Linked DNA regions of Homo sapiens: region 2 is linked to region 1. The links are contacts of gene promoters, found by promoter capture Hi-C in blood cells and fetal thymus (Javierre and others, 2016). All regions are on one chromosome and are shown on one strand. Each heading gives the region's core, a stretch centred on a gene start or on the middle of the fragment in contact. The rest is flanking DNA. Distances are from core to core; before and after follow the strand shown.

Region 1 (4,392 bases), core at 301-2,800:
AAAAAGTAAAATGACAAAGTACACCTGACCAATTCCACAAACTTTTTGCAAATCATCTGAAACAAATACAGTTTATAACTTTATATGGAGAAATCATCAAGAAAAAAATTGAACCGAGTATACTGGCAGTCAAGATAAACCAAATGTGAGTTTCTCTTTTTGTCACTATCAGCTGTTAAGAGTACATTAGCAGCAGGCAACTGGCCTGTGAAGATAACTTTCAGAATAAAAAAGAACAAATCAATTCTACAATCAGAGCCCCATTTCAACTTGGCAATTAACATTGGCACAAAATCCATGGCAGAAGTGCCATCCAGGAAAAGGAGATCTAGACCTCTTCTGCTTTTCTTCTTTGGGGGCCATGTTCAACTGTAAAGACACACGAAATGGTGCAACTGCATTTCTAAATCAGCAACAATTCAGAAATGTTTCATTCTAAATAGTGTCCAACCAGCAACACCGTCTTAAACCGTTTAAATTATCGTGTAAAACGGCTTAGAGATGAAGTTTTCCCTATGCAAGTTACAGCCCCTGCCAACATTTTAAAAAATATAGCTGCTTTCATTCTGCAGTACTGAAAACATATTAAATGGTTACATTTTCCAAAACTGTCTTAAGCTAGAGCAACCACATCAGCATCATTCCGACGCACAGAACACAGGGCTTTTATTTTGATGAGTTTATTAAGGCCAAGTCTGCAGGGAGCAGCGCAGCAGTCGCGGAGCGGCGAAGGCACCGTCCATCCCTCGCCGTGCACAGCTCGAGTGACAGCGACCACAGTCACGGCCGCGACACGGGCACATTCGGCGGGGAGAGCGGTCTTGGGCTCCGGGACCCGTCACGGGCTTTGCCATTAGGGCTCCACACACAACCTTACAGCCTCTCCCAAAGAAAAACGATCCATTTCCTTCCTTAGCTTGCTGAGCCTCGGAAATCATTAAATAAGACTATCGGGGTTTCTCTCCCTTCTGCAATTTTTCTGAAGAGGTTCTCAGGGAGAAAATTCCAGGATCGAGATTTGGCACCTCACATCACCGCGATAAAAACGGCGCCTTTCGTCAAATAAAAAGGACCCGCGCGCGTACGTGACCGCCCGGCCCACGAGCACCAGCGGCTCGGTCTCCGCCTGCGGCCCTCGGCCCAGCCGAGCAGGCCCACGCGGGCCTTGGGCGGCGGGCCCAGCCTCCACAACTCCGGGCGCGGCCTGCGACGGGCGGTGACCTAGGGCGGCGGCGGCCCCCACCTGGGCCGGGGCGGGCACCTGCGGGAGCCGCGGAGGCGCCAGACCTGGGGTCGGCCAGCTGGGCTCTCCCTCGTCGCCCACCAGCTCCCGCGCCTCACCTGCGGGCTGTCCTCCAGCGTCTCCTCGATGGGCAGCTTGTCGATCCCCGGCATCGTGGCGGAGGGAGGGCGGTGGCAGGAGACGCAGCTGCCGCCCACAGCTCCCCGCGCCGGCCCGCCCGCCGCAGCTGACCCCGGCCCGCCCTCTCCGGCAAGGGCTGCAGCCGTCCCCGCCCGCACAGCCTTCTCCAGGCGCCGAGCGGCCGTGCGGGAAATCCCGCCCCCTCGGCCTCCCTGCCCCGCCTCCCGGCGCGTCCATTGGCTCCCGGGGACGCCCATCCGCGCTGCGGCGGTGGTCGGGAGGTTCCCGTGCGGCGCTAGGCTCTCCCGCGAGCGCGGGCGTCGGAAGCGGCGGAGGTGGCAGTGTCTGCCCTGGGATGGCCTTCCCTGCACGCGCGCGTTTGTATCTAAATCGCAGGGGACCGTCTCTTCCTCAGCTTGCCGGCGCGAGGAGCCAGAGCCTCGAGTTAGGGCCACACGGGGGAATTTGGGGCGGGTTGACTTTTCCCGCAACATATTTTGTCAGAGACCTTGGAGAAAGTCCTACTGCTGGCGCCTTTTAGTTTCCTCAGATGATAACATTCCCAACTCCGCTCGAAGCGTCCAGTCTTAATCCCCTCCAGCAGAATGGTGCTGACTAACTCAGATGTCTGAGATCCGCAGCTGTGTCAATAATAGGGCTTTCTGGCAAACTTGTGAACGTAGGCTCGAAATTGTTTTTCTGGACGCTTGAATATCAGTATATTCAGTTGAAAACATGTGATTTTGTTGCCAGTTTATCAGTTCCTACCTGGCCTCCCGAGGTCAGTCCTTCAGGACTGACGCTGCAACTCCAACTCCCATGTTTCTTTTAAATCACAAAGGAAAATATCTTTTAAAAATCAGGATACACTGATTAATTATGTTAGTAACTAATTGGCATTTGTTGAATCAAAAAGTTTTGGAAGCGTTAAATAGTTTTAGCCTCTAATTTTACAATAAAGTGAAGCTCAAAGTTGGGAATTTGACCGGATGAGGGCTACAAGCCTATCCTTTCCTCCTCCCTCTTCATCTTTCCCAACCTGTCACCCTGGCTCGTTTATGTCTCTGTATAGTTGTAGGCTTTCATCATTATACAGAGAAAATAACAAAGTAAGTAGTGTCTTCTAAACATCTAGCCATTAATTCCACCAATCCATTCCATTTTCATTCAAGAAATACCAGAGATGCTGAGTAAAGATTAATTAGCTGCCTGGTTCCACAGATACATGGGAACAAATCCAGAATAGTAGTAGCTCAAATCCAAATATAGTAACAAATAGAAGTTATATATTTTAAACGAAAATAGTAGATTTTCCCATGATCTCTTGAAAGAAAAATAAAATTATATTTTTAAAGTTTTGTTGAGTAGACTTGCATTGTAGTTTTACGGAATTATTTTTAGTGTTACAATCTTTAAAAGTTTTCCCCTTAGATTGTTTATCAGCCAGTCTCTCTCTCCCGAAGAGTTCTTTAGTTTTTGAGGAAGTTGATTTGGAGGCAGTTCTTACAATGAGTTAAGGGTTCCCAGTTGTGTTACAGTTTCTTTTTCCTTGATATCTCATTTCTACTCTGCCAACAAGAACACCATGCACCCCAGCTCTAAAGAAGGAAGACTTTCAAGGTAAGTGACCTTCCTGATTGAACTGAGTTAGATTTTAAATGAAGAAAGGTTGTGGCAACTGTTAAGAATCAGGAGTAAGTGAGGAGTGTAAACAATGTATAAGAAAGAAAAAAAAAAAGGCCTGGCGCTGTGGCTCACGCCTGTAATCCCAGCAATTTGGGAGGCCGTGGCAGCTGGATCACCTGAGGTCAGGAGTTCAAGACCAGCCTGCCCAACATGGCGAAACCCAGTCTCTACTAACAATACAAAAATTAGCCGGGCGTGGTGGCGTGCCTGTAGTCCCAGCTACTCAGGCGGCTGAGGCAGGAGACTCAGTTGAAGCCGGGAGGCCCAGGTGCAGTGAGCTGAGATCATACCACTGCGCTCCGGCCTGGGCGACAGAGCAAGACTACGTATCAAAAAAAAAAAAAAAAAGAAAAGAAAAGAAAAGTATTTGTTACCTAATTAACTTGGCCAAACCAAATAATTCCGATGAAAAATTCGATTAGTTATCTGAATTATCTGGGTGTGGTATTGTCAAGTTAAATGGTTTCCTTCTTAGTATGTTATGTACATCTAAACTGTGTTTCTGTAAAGGACTCTCAAGAGGCCATTACATTATCGCAGAATGGCAAGGAATTCTTGCCGGACTCAGCTGGTTAAAAAATAAAACAGGCTGGGCGCGGTGGGGCTCACGCCTGTAATCCCAGCACTTTGGGAGGCTGAGGCAGGCGGATCAAGAGGTCAAGAGATGGAGACCATCCTGGCCAACTGGTGAAACCCCGTCTCTACCAAAAATACAAAAATTAGCTGGGCATGGTGGCACACGCCTGTAGTTCCAGCTCTTTGGGAAGCTGAGGCAGGAGAATCGCTTGAACCCGGGAGGTGGAGGTTGCAGTGAGCCGAAACTGCACTCCAGCCTGGGCGACAGAGCGAAACTCTGTCTCAAAAACAAAAAATAAATAAAAATGAAAAAATAAAACAAACAAAAACAGGTTCACATTCAGTTGGATGGAGAGGTAGGTTTAGTCAAATCTAGTTTTAACCTATTTGTACTAGAATCCAGTTTTAACCTTCCATTTGGATTCTCTAGCTTTAGGCCACTGTATACCCTGCTCATCCAAAAATATGGTTGTATTTCCTAAGTTAAAACATCTCCAAAGCTGCAAAATTCATAGTCCTTTTTGATAACCACTTTAAGTTTATTCAGCCTACGTTTTGTGCAGTTAACCAAACTCAGTTCATTTTAAGCCAGTTTTCTTTCATACAGGAAATGAGGCTTGTTCAGAGAATGCCTTAGGGGTTACTGGCGACTCGTGTGGGTAGTAGAGTAAAAACTTTGGGCAACTGGTTAATTTTATGGAAAGCAAGTCAGGATTAAACAACATCCACTAAAGATTTCTTTGAGATGTTTCACATATATACCTTGA
Region 2 (4,328 bases), core at 1,191-3,690, 440 kb before region 1:
AACTCTTTATCACTGGAGATGGTACCAGCTTAATTCTGCATAAATAAGCCTTGCTAAAATAACCCTTATCTTTCATTAGTTTTACCCATATGTTTACCTTCCCACAGATTACCACCCCTAGAAGTCCAAATCCTTTTTCCTTTGTCTGCATTTTAGTTTCTTTTGTTAAAATGGTATCTAAGCTCCCAAGTTTAACCACCTCTTTGGGTTTTTACTTTTTTTCTCTGAAGCCTTTGTATGCATTCGAACTAAATCTTTTCTCGTTAATCTGTTGTCTGTTTATTTCACAGGCCCCAGTTAGTGAACCTAAGATGGTAGAGGAAAAGTCCCCCGCATGCATACATCAAGGCTAAGAAGTTAATTCTGTGGTGTTTAGATAGCCTATATCTAGTTTTATAGCCTCTGCATGTGTCATTATCAAAAAAATTTTTAAGTACTTTTGGCTTATGAATGACCTACAGATTTTTTTTTTCTTTTTTCTTTTTTTTTTTTTTTTTTGAGATGGAGTTTTGCTCTGTCACCCAGGCTGGAGTGCAGTGGCACGATCGCAGCTCACTGCAACCTCCGCCTCCCAGTTCAAGTGATTCTCCTGCCTCAGCCTCCCAAGTAGCTGGGACACCTTTGCCTGCCACCATGCCTGGCTAATTTTTGTATGTTTAGTAGAGATGGGGTTTCACTGTGTTGGCCAGGCTGGTCATGAACTCCCGACCTCAAGTGATTCGCCTGCCTCAGGCTTCCAAAGTGCTGGGATTACAGGTGTGAACCACTGCACCCGGCTGATTTTTTTTCTTTTCTTTTTTTTTGAGATGGAGTCTCGCTCTGTTGCCCAGGCTGGAGCGCAGTGGCGCGATCTCCACTCACTGCAAGCTCTGCCTCCCGGGTTCACGCCATTCTCCTGCCTCAGCCTCCCGAGTAGCTGGGACTACAGGTGCCCACCACCACGCCTGGCTAATTTTTTGCATTTTTAGTAGAGATGGGGTTTCACTGTGTTAGCCAGGATGGTCTTGATCTCCTGACCTTGTGATCCGCTCACCTCCGCCTCCCAAAGTGCTGAGATTAGAGGTGTGAGCTACCACGCCTGACTGATTTTTTTCTCATAGATATTATTTAATGCTTTTTTTATGTGCTGCACATCAAATGAAGTGTGGTTCTTGTGACTTGAAGTATGGTTGGTACAAGGAAAATCTACAAAAGACCTGAAAGCAGGCACTTTGCTGTCTTAACAGATCATCATTGTCCTAGGTAGCAAGAGACTATATGTTTTGTAAATATTTGAAATTGCTATTTTCAGTTGTAGTTATCCATACAGTTTGGTTTTTTTATGTGTTTATTAAATGAAAATTGGAGGCCGGGTGCAGTTGCTCACACCTGTAATCTCAGGACTTTGGGAGGCTGAGGCGGACAGATAACTTGAGATCAGGAATTCGAGACCAGCCTGGCCAACATGGTGAAACCCCATCTCTACTGAATATACAAAATTAGCTGGGCGTGGTGGTGTGTGCCCGTAGTCCCAGCTACTCAGGAGGCTGAGGCAGGAGAATCTCTTGAATCAGGGATGCTGAGGTTGCAGTGAGCCGAGATTGTGCCACTGCACTCCAGGCTGGGCGACGGAGTGAGACTCCATCTCAAGAAAAAAAAGGATTACTGTACCAACTTTGAAATGAATTTGTTATTTCCCAGGATAACCTTTAATTGCTGTAGAAGAAAGTCCAGACACAGTAGAGCAGTCTTTAGGAAAGAGACATAAATCAAGCCTTTATTTCCATTGTATACCCACTTAAACAGCATGTTAGACTGGATGAAAAAATGACACAGATAAAAATGCTTTTGAGATTGGAATCGTTTGCCCTTCCCCGCCCCTCCGCCACCTTAGATTCTCCTGACTTTAAAAAAGCTTTGTTTGGTTGGTTTTTTAGGTTTCAGTTTTTTGTTTCATTTGAATGGCTTTTATCTTTAGGAGCCTAAGTTTAAAGAGGGCCTTCCCTCTGATAAATATTTGTCCAGTGTTTTTTTCCTTATCATTTACCATTAACATCATCTGGATGTAGGTGTTCCTGAGGCTTAAGCTGTGATGAGTGCCCAAGGACAGAAGTCACTGTATTTTAAACATGTCCAGAGAAAAAAACTCAGCATTAGTAGAGAGAGTTTGAAGCAATGATGAATCTGAGGGAAACATTAATCCTCCTTGTTCTGGATGGACTTGACATGCAGACAATATTCGTCTCAACACATTTCTTCTTTGTAGACAGCAGGGACATCATCATGTGCTTTACACTTCCCAGTTGCTAAAGCAGCACTTCTCATACCGTGTTGAAGGGCCAGTTGGGGTTTTTAATATTTCCAGTCAGTTATGGACCAATATTTTTGAAAAACAATTTAATTGAATTGTTAGAAAAATAAAATGAAATGAGGAAAAAAAAGAAATGTAAAATAAAAGTCTAATTTTTTTTTTTGAGATAGGGTCTTGCTCTGTTGCCCAGGCTGGAGGTAGTGGTGTGATCTCGGCTCACTGCAACCTCTGCCTACTGTGTTCAAGAAATTCTCCTGCCTCAGCCTCCTGAGTAGCTGGGATTACAGGTGCCTGCCACCGCATCCGGCTAATTTTTATATTTTTAGTAGAGATGGGGTTTCACCGTGTTGGCCAGGCTGGTCTCAAACTCCTGACCTCAGGAGATCCACCTGCCTTGGCCTTCTGAAGTGCTGGGATTACGGGCGTGAGCCACTGTGTCTGGTCTAAAAGTCCAAATTTATTACAGCAATATCAAGTTGCTATGAAAGTTTCTAAATATATATTCTCAACTTGCATATTTATTTGGTTATGGAACAGTAACAAGAGTTTATGGACTGGCGTCAGTCTATGGAATAAATTGTGAGAAGCTCTGGTCTAAAATACTGTTTCTCAGCAACCTAGCTTAACCACCCTAATCACAGAGAGAGTGACTATATAAGCTGAGGGTCAAGGGAGGGGGCTGGCTCTTGAAGCTTCACGTTTTGTCTTAGTCTTAGGCATTTTGATCCACTCTGTAGCTATGTTTGTACAAATATAAAAATAACATTTTAAGGCCAGGTGTGGTGGCTCTCGCCTGTAATCCCAGCACTTTGGGAGGCTGACGTGGGAGGATCACTTGAGCCCAGGAGTTCAAGACCAGCCTGGGCAACATAGCAAGACCCCATCTCTAGTGAAATTTTTTTTAAAAAGGCCAGGCACAGTGGCTTACGCCTGTAATCCTAGCACTTTGGGAGGCAGATCACCTGAGATCAGGAGTGTGAGACCAACCTGGCCAACATGGTGAAACCCCATCTCTACTAAAAATACAAAAAATTGGCCAGGCGTGGTGGCACGCACCTGTAATCCCAGCTACTCAGGAGGCTGAGGCAGGATAATCTCTTGAACCCGAGCAGTGAAGGTTGCAGTGAGCCTAGATCCCGCCACTGCACTCCAGCCTGGGCAACAGAGCGAGACTCTGTCTCAAAAAAATAAAATTATGTAAGTTAATTCTTATAACTACGTTTGTAAAAGAAAAAGTCAATTTCCATTAAAATTTTTCTATTTTTCAGTGAATCATCAGAAAGCTATGGTGCTCATAGCATAACTTTTATATCTTTTTGGATCTTGTAGATCTTTAGTTTTCTTAGTGATCGTATTGGGTAAGATGCTTGGAATTCAGTACAGTCATAGGTCAAATTGGGGAATTTTATTTTAGTGTCTTTGAGTGTTACTGCTGGAAGTGACTTTAGAGATTATCTAATAGTACTCCTTGATTTTGTTGACAAGGAAATTGAGGTGAATCTTTCCTCCAAATGTAACCACTATCCTTTCTTATAACAATACTTTTCTTTTTTTTATACTTTTATCACCCAGCCATGCATCCCTAAGCACGACAGTTTAGTTTTTCCTGCTTTCAAAACATTTTATAAAAGTGGATTTGAACAATATGTGTTATTTTGTGTTTGGCATCTTTTGCTCATTATTATGTTTGTGAGTCAACATTATATGCAGATATATTCCAAAAATGTTTAATTACATGAGGGATATGGAATAGGAAAAATAGTAAAGAGACTTAGGAGTTAAGATGCATGTTTTACTTCTGGCTTTGCCTCTAACCAGCAAGGATGGCTTTGAGCAAGTCACTGGAACTCTTAGGATTTTCTTTTTTTCCTCCAAAACATGACAGAATGGGTTAAAATGATTGATAGGATTTTTTTCAGCTCTAAAATTGATGAAACTGGATAAATGTTATACTAAGCTATCCTTAATTTATTTCATTTTTATTTTCATTAGGTTGTCTTGGAGATACCCAGTTTTGTTTTAGATTTCGACAGTCTTC

What was found. The method cuts DNA at HindIII sites, captures the fragments that hold promoters and counts their contacts. A CHiCAGO score of 5 or more calls a contact.
Region 2: a contact is called between a fragment that was not itself captured here and the fragment with the promoter of APPL1 in region 1, in 2 of 17 cell types (total B cells and monocytes). The highest score is 6.4, in total B cells.

What each region holds. Positions count from the first base shown.
Region 1 is chr3:57,224,887-57,229,278 of GRCh38, reverse strand. It overlaps APPL1 (adaptor protein, phosphotyrosine interacting with PH domain and leucine zipper 1), which reads right to left and starts at 1,550. Exons shown (of 22, transcript NM_012096.3): 1 at 1,342-1,550. The coding sequence starts at 1,395. It also overlaps a transcript of HESX1 not described here. RefSeq lists a silencer at 1,093-1,752. The HindIII fragment of the contact is 8,451 bases long and covers 1-4,392 here.
Region 2 is chr3:57,666,190-57,670,517 of GRCh38, reverse strand. It overlaps DENND6A (DENN domain containing 6A), which reads left to right. Exons shown (of 20, transcript NM_152678.3): 4 at 4,283-4,328. Among named protein-coding and RNA genes, the nearest start is that of DENND6A, 25 kb to the left of the region's middle. The HindIII fragment of the contact is 1,088 bases long and covers 1,897-2,984 here.